Linked DNA regions of Homo sapiens: region 1 is linked to region 2. The links are contacts of gene promoters, found by promoter capture Hi-C in blood cells and fetal thymus (Javierre and others, 2016). All regions are on one chromosome and are shown on one strand. Each heading gives the region's core, a stretch centred on a gene start or on the middle of the fragment in contact. The rest is flanking DNA. Distances are from core to core; before and after follow the strand shown.

Region 1 (5,147 bases), core at 1,456-3,955, 340 kb before region 2:
TATGCCCTGCTCACAGAGGTGGAGTCTATAGAGGCTGTAGGCCCTGCTGAGCTGTGGTGGGCTCCACCCAGTTTGAGCTTCCTGGTGGCTTTGTTTACCTACTCAAGCCTCCCCAGTGGCGGCCGCCCCTCCCCCAGCCAGGCTGCTGCCTCGCAGGTTGATGTCAGACTGCTGGGCTAGCAGGGAGCAAGACTACCAGGGCGTGGGGCCTGCCAAGCCAGGCATGGGAGAGAATCTCCTAGTCTGTCAGTTGCTAAGACCTAGGAAGAGCACAGTATTTGAGTGGGAGTGTCCTGTTTTTCCAGGTACAGTCTGTCATGTCTTCCCTTGGATAGGAAAGGGAAATCCCCCAACCCCTGTCCTTCCCAGGTGAGGTGACGTCCCACCCTGCTTCAGCTCGCCCTCCGTGGGCTGCACCCACTGTCCAACCAGTCCGAATGAGATGAACCAGGTACCTCAGTTGGAAATGCAGAAATCACCTGTCTTCTGCATCGATCACGCTGGGATCTGCAGACTGGAGCTGTTCCTATTCACCCACCTTGGAACGGACTTGTGATTGGATTTAATGTTTAGCTCTTTTTGCATGCCAGGCACTGCACTAAGAACTTTATGAACATTATGACATTTAAATTTCACTGCAGTTCTCTATGCTGAATTATTATCTGTGTTTTACAGATGAGGAAACCAAGGCTTTGGTAGAATAAGTATCTTGGCCAAGGTGACACAGACCCAACCCTTTTTGACTGTTCAGGACTAGAACATTAATAAAGCCAACTGGCCCAATTGAGGTTCAGGCTGCTGCCTTTGGTGTCACTGTCACTGTGTTCAGTCCAGCAAAGCCACATGTTCACAGACCAACCAGTGTCCCACACAGACCTCAGTGTCCCACTTGCAGCAGCCAGAACTACTTCCCATTCATCAGTCATATAAAGGTTTTTGTTAACAGTTTGATAGTTGAAATCATGTTATGTTCCATGATGTCAATTAGCTATTCCAGGAAACCAATGGAAAGACGGAAAGATGTTACATTAAAACAATTCACTGAAATATTTCATTTGAAAGACTTTAGGAGACAAGATTTAGAAAAATCTGTGTAAAGTCCCTGTGTTTTAGTACTGCTAGGTAGCCTACTACTAATAACCATTTGTTATCATTGAAAAAGTTGCCCAGGCATGGTGGCTCACGTCTGTAATCCCAGCACTTTGGGAGGCTGAGGAGGGCAGATCATGAGGTCAGGAGTTTGAGACCAGCCTGACCAACATGGTGAAACCTCGTCTCTACTAAAAATACGAAAATTAGCAAGGCGTCGTGGCGGGCGCCTGTAGTCCCAGCTACTCAGGAGGTTGAGACAGGAAAATCGCTTGAACCCAGGAGGAGGAGTTTGCAGTGAGCTGAGATCGAGCCACTGCACTCCAGCCTGGGCAACAGAGCGAGACTCCGTCTCTAAATAAATAAAAAAATAAAAATTCAGCAAATTTGAAACACCATCTTTACAACACACCTAAATCTCCAATGTTAGAATAATGTTTAAATACATTAGCATAAGTACTCAATATAATTCATACATGCAATAAGATAGCTATGGAGATTTTAGAAACAAAAAATATTCGTAATACAACAGAAACATCCTTCCCCAAAACATTTGTTATTATGGCAACTATATAAAGTCTACTTCTAAATGTGGGCTCCCTGGAAGGTTCTATGAAAAATAAAAGCCTCAGCGTGATGAGATTATGGGTTTTTTAAAATTAAAAAATTTCAAATGGGAAAGATGATTTACCATATTATAAACATGTAAAAAAGAAACCAATGCAAATTGATCAAGAAAACAGGACCAAAAATATTGACTGGTTAAAAAGAAAACCAAAGTTAAAAGTATGAATTCAAGCTTAATAATATTTATTTGTTTAATACAAATATTTGCCCATGTAGTAAGTGCCAGGGACTGTGCTAGTGATACATAGATGGAAAACCACAGCATTTTCTATCATTAAAATTATATTGTTTCAATTTATAACATGTACTAACAGTTTTTCAAAAATTGACCTTTATTTTATAATCTGTCTTTCTGACAGGGATTCTGTAAAACTCAAGCTTCAGTCTTTTGTAAGTCAGCCTCTTTATCCTTGGCTTGGTAATCTGGTATTTGCTTTCTAGTAAGATAAACTGAAATAGAAACTGGAGACACTGTACTTTATGTATAATCTCTCATTTAGTTAAGCAGCATTAGAACATTGCCAGTTAGCAAATGGCTTCTTGGGGGTTACTCTACACCCCTGCCCTGCTCCCCAACAATGAGGCGTACTGCTGAGGGTTTCAGTTAGGAATGTGTTCATTTGCAAGTAACAGAGAACCTGTCTAACATGAGCTTAAACAGAGGTGTTTCAGTCTCTCCTGGTAAGTCTGGAGGCTGAACTTGTCGAGGGCCTGCCTTGCTGGGATTCTCTTGGCCTTTTCTGATGCCTGTCACCTCAACGTGGAAAGGCTGCCCCACACCACTAGCCCTCACATCTGGATGCCAAGCTGGAAGAATGAGGAAGGGCAGGGACAAGGGGCCTTAGCATTGTAATCTGTCGGCTTCAGCAGAAAAGCCAAGCTCTGTCCAGAAGCTCCACCTAGTACACTGAGCTTTAGTTTTTTAGACTTCACAGGGCAGATCATGAATGGCTTTGGTGTAACTAGGCTAATGTCTGCCACAGTACTTTCTGCCATTTGCATCCTCTTTTTTGACAGCATAATCCCTAATAAGGCCAAGGATGGTGTTTTATTTAAAGAATTTGCCATGAAATTAGGTATATTTGAGGTACCCTACTCAATCACTGGAAAGTTCCTGAGGTCTTTGACAAGGGAAAGAGCCTCAGCCCTTTCCTCCCTTGTTAGTTGAAAGGAAGAATCAACTTAGGGCCTTCTACCTTCCTTAATCCAGTCCAGGCCCTCCTTTGTAAGTTTCGTCAAGCTGTTTTAAAAAAAACTTTTCCCTTCTATTTTCTCTCACTGTCTGACTTTTTTCTATTTGAGATACATAAGAGGTCCTAATCAGCCTTACATCTACCCCAAGTCAGAATAAAGAAAGCTGTGTGTTTGAAGTGTGAAAGCAGGTGAAATAAAGAACTGTTGTGTTGAATATCTAAAGCCTTTGAAAGCACTCAGAAGTTACTATATTTTTGACAGAGGCCACATCTAGGGCAAAGATAGAAAAGCTAGTATGTTTGAGTGAATGAAACAATTGAGCAGGTGCCCATTACTGCTTAGGCCTTTTCTTGTTTAATTTTCCAGTGAACCTATGGAAAAAAGATAATTGGGTTCTATTAAAAGAAAAGCTTTATGCAGATTATATTTAACAGAGTTTTACTGAACCAAGAATATTTTGTGAATTGGGCAGCCCCCTGAACCAGCATAGGTTCAGAAGGACTCTGACACTGCTTCATAGTCACAAAGAATTTATGTACAGAAAAAGGAAGTTAGGTACAAAAACGGGAATAATCTAATGGAAGTTAGATTGGTTACAGCTTGGCGCTTGCCTTGTTTGGACACAGTTCGAATAGTTGGCTGCCTTAATTGGCTGAAATGCTGTGATTGGTCCAAGAGTAGGTTACAATCTGTTTACGTATCTAGTTAGGTTACAGTTCACTATGGATGGAGCAACCTTTAGGCTGAACTCAAAATATGTAAGGAGGTAGCTTTAGGCTAAGTTTTTTTTTTTTTAATTGAGACAGAGTCTCACTCTGTCGCCCAGGCTGGAGTGCAGTGGTGTGATCTCAGCTCACTGCAACCTCTGACTCCTGGGTTCAAGGGATTCTCCCACCTCAGCCTCCTGAGTAGCTGGGATTACAGGTACATGCCATGACAGCCAGCTAATTTTTGTATTTTTAGTAGAGATGAGGTTTCACTATGTTGGCCAGGCTGGTCTCGAACTCCTGACCTCAGGTGATCTGTCCACCTCAGCCTCCCAAAGTGCTGGGATTACAGGCGTGAGCCACCGCTCCTGGCCTTAGGCTAAACTTAATTTAGCAGTTTATTTCACAGGTTTGGAAATGGAAGCTAAGAGAGATGCCAAGTAATATCTCCAAGGCTACCCATCTGTCAGGGTCAAAATTAAAACCAGGACAATCTGACTCTAAAATATATACTTCCCCCGGCCCCACCTCCCCCCAGTTTTCCTCATTGTCCTCTGTGGCTCATTTGTCTTCAGATAAACTTGTTTCCCATTATTGTTCTTATTCAATCTCAATGTTAAAAAAACTCTTATTCAAATTGATTATGTCTCTTTATTTCCTAGTGAGTCCCAAGGTTCCAGCATCAGCTAGTGAGTCCCATGGTGCAGCATCAGCTATGTATACCCTGGAATTCAAACATGGCTAGACGTGTCTGGAAGCCTATGGAAGGAATCTGGCAGGGGCTGCTTAATTATATAAGTTAACTGGGATCCTCCCGGGAAAGAAGTAATCCTACAAGAAGAGAGTAGAGGCATGCAAGTTTACTTAGCAGTCAGTGCCACAGAGTAGGGGGTTAAGGCTGAGTCACGTGCAAGGTAATTATTTAGCCTGTCTTCCAATCAAATCCCTAGGGACTCTAGGAGCCAGGAGGTTGCCAGTGAAGGTTCCAAGTGTCTTCACTAAGATTTCCACGGGTCATTGAGTCTTCATGCGGAGTCAGGAGACCCCGCAGCTTACTCCCCAGGGCCCTGTGGGGGTGAGTCACGAGGGCTTGGGTGCAGGCATTGGGGTCCTCAGGAGATTCACAGATCTGGAGTCAAAGGGTAAAGGCTTATCCATTCAGTGGCCAACAAGGCTGCTTCAAAGCACATCTGAGGGAGGAGTTTGCTTCAGAGCTCCTGAAGTTAGTGGGGGGGAGTGGTTGAGGGTAATAGAGTACTAAGGTCGTAATGGGAAGCAGATTCAGGGAAATACCCTGAATCTCAATTGCCATATTTATAAATGTATCAACAATTTAATAAAACCATTTGAGCAAAACAAAACACTTCTTGTTTTGTTATGCACTTGCAACTATTAAAATTAACTGACAATAGAATTTATTTAAACATGCAACCACATACTACTTTCTTTTTCAGTCACTGTCAGAGTTAGAAGCAAAGTCTTTTTTCGCATCAGGGTCTAGAGACTCTTCTGAATTATTTCGGCTATGTA
Region 2 (5,033 bases), core at 999-3,498:
AATAATATATTTTATTTAACTCAATATAGCAAAAATATCATTTTAACCTGTAATTGATATTTTTAAAATTATCAATGTTTATTACTTTTTCTTATTCAGTCTTCAAAATCCAGAGTGTATTTTATACTTAACAGTACATCACATTTCATACTCAGACACTTTCACTGGAAATACTTCATCTGCATTTGGTTCTCACAAAATTTACAGTTGAAAAAGTAGGTTCATATACTTACATTGTTCCAAGTATACTTAAAAGTCTTCCAATAAATTCATGACTAATGCAAGTTTAGAAAAAAGAAAGCAAAAAAAATTACTTTAAATAGTTTAAAAATAATCCCATTAGATATCAGTTTTCAAATTTAAATATAAATTTAATTAATCAATTAAGGTTAATTGATTTAAAAATTCAGTTCCCAGTTGCACTAGACATACTCAAGTGCTCAATAGTCACAGACCATCACAAGGACTTTTGATTTTATTCCGAGCTAGAAAGGGAGCACTGAAGGGTTTTGAGCAAAGTAGTGACATAATCTGATTTAAGATGACTTTGCTATGTCAGAGAATAAATTGAGGTGAGGCAAGGGCAGAAGCAGGGAGACCAGCCAGGAGGCTACTGCAGGTAACATCAGTTAAGTGATGCAGATGCCTTGGACTGAAGTGGTGGCAGTGGAGGTGGGGAGAACTGGTAGGAGTCCAGGAATCTCTTGTGCCAGCCCTGACTCAATCTGCTTATGAGTTAGATAAGGGATCAGGGATGACACAAAGGTTTTGGGGCTAAAAAATTTAAGACAATGAATTTGTCTTTTATAGATTTTGTAAAAAAAACAGGTTTGGGTAGGAAGATCAGGGGCTTGGTTTTGGACATTTTGAGTTCAAGATGCGTATGAGACATGTAAGTGAAGATGTTAATAAGTAGGCAGTGGATATCTGAGTATGGAGTTGAGGAGAGCTCAGCTAATGATACACATTTGGGAGCCATCAACATATAGATGGTATTTAAAAATAGAAGACTGAAGGAGACCACCAAACGAGAGTACAGAAAGAAGTGTTAGGGTGAGGTCATCCAGCAACAGTATTTTAAGGAAAATGCAAGCTTTGTGATCAGGCCGCAAACAGATCAACGAGAATTGGAGGAATAATAAACTCTTTCCAGGCAGAAGCATTAGATGCAATGGTGCAAAGGTAAGTGATTAGCCAACCATGGTATAGCAAGTCATTTTGCTCTGCTGAAGCAGAAATACTAGCTAGCTGACACAGAAAGATGCATTAAGTGATTGAGAAGGGCTCTCACGCTAGCTGGGTGGCTATCCAGAGCTGGGAATGTGAGGGTTCTAAGGATAGCTTTGGAGTTAACAAGTGACAGCTGCAGTTAGTTTCCTATACATACACAAAACCAACCCGTCCTACCACAGAATATATGTCATAATGCTGGCACAACAGACACATCCCTTTTAGTTTTGCAGACGAGGAGTAACCGTTGCCCTGGACCACAAAGCCACTTAGCGGCAGAGCCTCGCACCCGCGAAGATTATTACTAGGGAGATGTTTTTACCCCTGAGGACACCTGAGCCCTTAAGTGGGGCAGGCTTCGAGGGAGGGGGGCCGATAAGGCGACTTCAGACAGGGCAATCACGATGGGCGCTTGAGTTCTGCGCAGAATTTTGACAAGGGGGAGGGTCTTGGCTTGAAGACAGAGCGTGGAGTCATTTAAGGATAATGGAAGGGCATAAGCAGAAGCTCAAGGATAAAAAGCACTGAAATTCTTGAGCTGGCGGCAGGGCTGAACGTAGCTCAGTGAAAGATCCTTTCTTGCCACATCCTCTCTAAGCCAGGCTGTGAGAACCGCGGGAAACGAAGGAGAAGGGTGGCGGTGGGGTCAGTAAAGGGCCGGCCCAAGGTGCATCTTTTAGGTCCTGATGCTAGGAGCAGCCGTCCCTGCCCCTATATTCCTCTCACTGGGTAGGTTTGCTCGGGAGTGGCTACCTCCCAGGCAAAAATTCGGCCTGGTTAAACTGGAAAGACCAGGAAAGCCCGCCCACGGGCGTCCGGGGAACGCCTGCAAAGTGCCAGCACCCTACCAACCCAGGCGCCGCACGGGTGGGGTCGCGGCCGCAGGCTCTTCCGGGGCGGGCCTAGCCTGACGCAGGAGGAGGGGCGGCCCCCGTCGCACAAGAACCAATCACGACTGTCGCTTCTACGTGGCTAGCATTGACCAATAGGAGACCGTAGTGATAGCGACGGGGAAATTCAAACGTGTTTGCGGAAAGGAGTTTGGGTTCCATCTTTTCATTTCCCCAGCGCAGCTTTCTGTAGGTAAGTTCTGTCTTACCGGTGCACCGGCGCACTGAGGAACAGCCGCAGCCGGTGTAGGGGCTCATTGTTAGCGCTGGTCGGTGAGGGGTGGGGCGAGGTGGGGGCAGCTCGGAGCCAGGTATGCGACGCGGCTAAACGAGCTGGAGGGGGAGGGGATGTCTCACTGCCTCAGCGGGTCTGGCCGGTGGGGTGATGCAGGAGGTTTTGTTGAGGAAGTAAGAAGTGGGTGTGGCCCACGCTGGAAAGAAGGGGTGGTGGGGTACCTGCGCACAAGATCGTTTTCCAAAGGACAGTCTCTCTTGTTTTGGGGGTTAGAACTGGGAAAGAAGCGGGTGGCCGTGATCTGACAGTTATCTTTCAAACCTGACTTAAGAGGTGGAGTGATACCTTGCTGCAACTTTATGACTTTTTTTCATTGTTAAACCTGAAGACGGGGCAGCATTGTTATCAGTGACACTGAGTTGGTGTTTGAGAGTCACAAAGATACGATTAACAATAAGACTGCAGACACTTTATTGAACAAACACCACCACCATGCAGATAAGCAAGTGCTCAGTACCAGTACAATAGTTTCTTAGTGTTAGATTAAGGTAGCAAATCGTGATTCTGCTAGATATGCACAAGAATAAATCTGCGGATTTCCTAATTATCAGTAAAGCCCCATCATGTTTATATTCTGCTTTGAAAGCACTTGCACTGGAAGATTTACTCAAGTAAAGCAGGCGAATAAAGGAATTGTTATTCCCATTGCCAAACGAATTCTTTATGTCTATGTCACTACCAGAATCCAAGCAATCTTTATGTGTATGTCGCTACCAAAATCCAAGCAAACACTCTATCATATTTTTTTTAAGTGACACTAAATTTGCAGATTTCTACAGTGTGACGTCATTGATGTTATATTGGGGGAAAAAGTATACTTGGCCTATGAAACCTTGGTGAATAAATTACAAAGATGTGTACCTTGTTGTTGTGCACTTACCTCCATTAATACTAGCCTAATAATAGCTGCATTTAGATGTGTTCACAAAACGAATGCTTTAGTCGTCTGGGTTCTAAAAAGCTAGTGCATTTTTTTCTTTGATGCTAGTTAAAGTAGGAGTTATGACTGTTCAGTTTTTTTCTTAGAAATGGAATCCGAGGATTTAAGTGGCAGAGAATTGACAATTGATTCCATAATGAACAAAGTGAGAGACATTAAAAATAAGTTTAAAAATGAAGACCTTACTGATGAACTAAGCTTGAATAAAATTTCTGCTGATACTACAGGTGAGTTTTTCTTTTCTTTTAAGTTAGTAACTGTTTGTTGGGTATCCTCTAAGGTAAAGATATAGTACTAATCACTTTATTTATAATTTACTCATGTGTTTATTGTCTTTCTCCTCCATTAGAATGCAGGCTACATGATGGCAGGGTTTTTGTCTGTTATATCCACAGAACTTTGAATGGTGTCTGGCACATGGTAGGTAGGCACTTAAACATTTATTGAACAATGATTAATGGGTGAAAATGCCCAGAGTTTAATACTCTAGCTCTTCTAAAAGTATTAGCTCAGAAGCCTGATTCTTTACTGTATTTCAAATGGTTGGTCATTTGAATGGTGACCTTTGGATAATTTTCTTACATCTATACTAACCTTTAAATAGATGAGGAATTGAAAATAAATGGAAGAACCTGTGATCTAATCATGGTGGCTGACTGTTCACTTTGAAAAAACCTAGAAAATGATAGTTTTAGTGTTAAGCAAAATCTTAATGGAGTATAATTGTGCTTAATTATGTCACTAACAAAGGTTGTACATCAAGGCAATTGAGTATTTTAAGTACTGAGGAAGATTCAAAGATGCTTAAAACCATAGTTTCTTTCTAGATGAGAATTTATATATTCACTATGCTACATTGTAATGCATGCTGGGCATCATAGGAATACTAGCATGATAAAACACAAATGTTTTATTTGTTGATTAGAGGAAGAATAGGGTACTCAGGCATGAGGAATGCATCTGCAAAGCCACAGATGGCAATGTGTGTTTTTTAGACATTTCACAGACTAATTTCTTAGGAAAGCAATAGGAGGTAAAAATAGAAAATTAAGGTCAGACCAAATTAAATTTAAAACGACAAAGCAAAGTTATGCATGCACTATATTTTAGTAGAAAGTAGAAACAAATTTTATTTATAAAAGTAAAGATGTAGGCTTTGTTGAAAGTGACTGAAGTTAATAGAAGGAATAATAGCTTCTCTGGAAATCTGAATTTAATATTGCTTAGTAATAACCAAAATATCCTGAACAGAAGACTGACATTCAAGTTATCTTTTTAAAAAACTAACACTGAAGAAAGTAAAAAGTACATTTCAGTGTGAACATTTTGTCTGAAGGTTATTCTTGCTGTTTCTGTTGGTTGGGGTTCCACAGAGAGAAACCTGACAGTCACAAGAGGTCCTATAAATTCCAAAGGTCTAGACCACGGTAACTATGAGTTTGTTGGACCAAGAAATTATCAGGGCCTCTAGCAGAAATTTAGGTTACTTGGAGAGAAGAAAATGATTGTCTCATTTGTTTATTTTTTGTAAAGCTGGTTTGGTTTTACAAGTAAGTATGAGGTATACAGAGATAATGTTGAATGGTTAAGGTTGTAAAGAAGGTTATGTTAGGACTGGAGCAGTAGGTTTAATGAATAAATCATTGATGGGAGAATTTTCTAAGTTAATTAGTACAAG

Evidence for each region. The method cuts DNA at HindIII sites, captures the fragments that hold promoters and counts their contacts. A CHiCAGO score of 5 or more calls a contact.
Region 1: a contact is called between a fragment that was not itself captured here and the fragment with the promoter of TTK in region 2, in 2 of 17 cell types (non-activated CD4 T cells and naive CD4 T cells). The highest score is 5.7, in non-activated CD4 T cells.

Annotation. Positions count from the first base shown.
Region 1 is chr6:79,663,756-79,668,902 of GRCh38, forward strand. The region is part of intron 1 of SH3BGRL2 (SH3 domain binding glutamate rich protein like 2); the gene reads left to right. Among named protein-coding and RNA genes, the nearest start is that of SH3BGRL2, 35 kb to the left of the region's middle. RefSeq lists an enhancer at 1-206. The HindIII fragment of the contact is 1,226 bases long and covers 2,093-3,318 here.
Region 2 is chr6:80,002,401-80,007,433 of GRCh38, forward strand. TTK (TTK protein kinase) reads left to right here and starts at 2,249. Exons shown (of 22, transcript NM_003318.5): 1 at 2,249-2,313; 2 at 3,442-3,582. The coding sequence starts at 3,444. RefSeq lists enhancers at 1,286-2,160, 1,731-1,850. The HindIII fragment of the contact is 2,460 bases long and covers 1,092-3,551 here.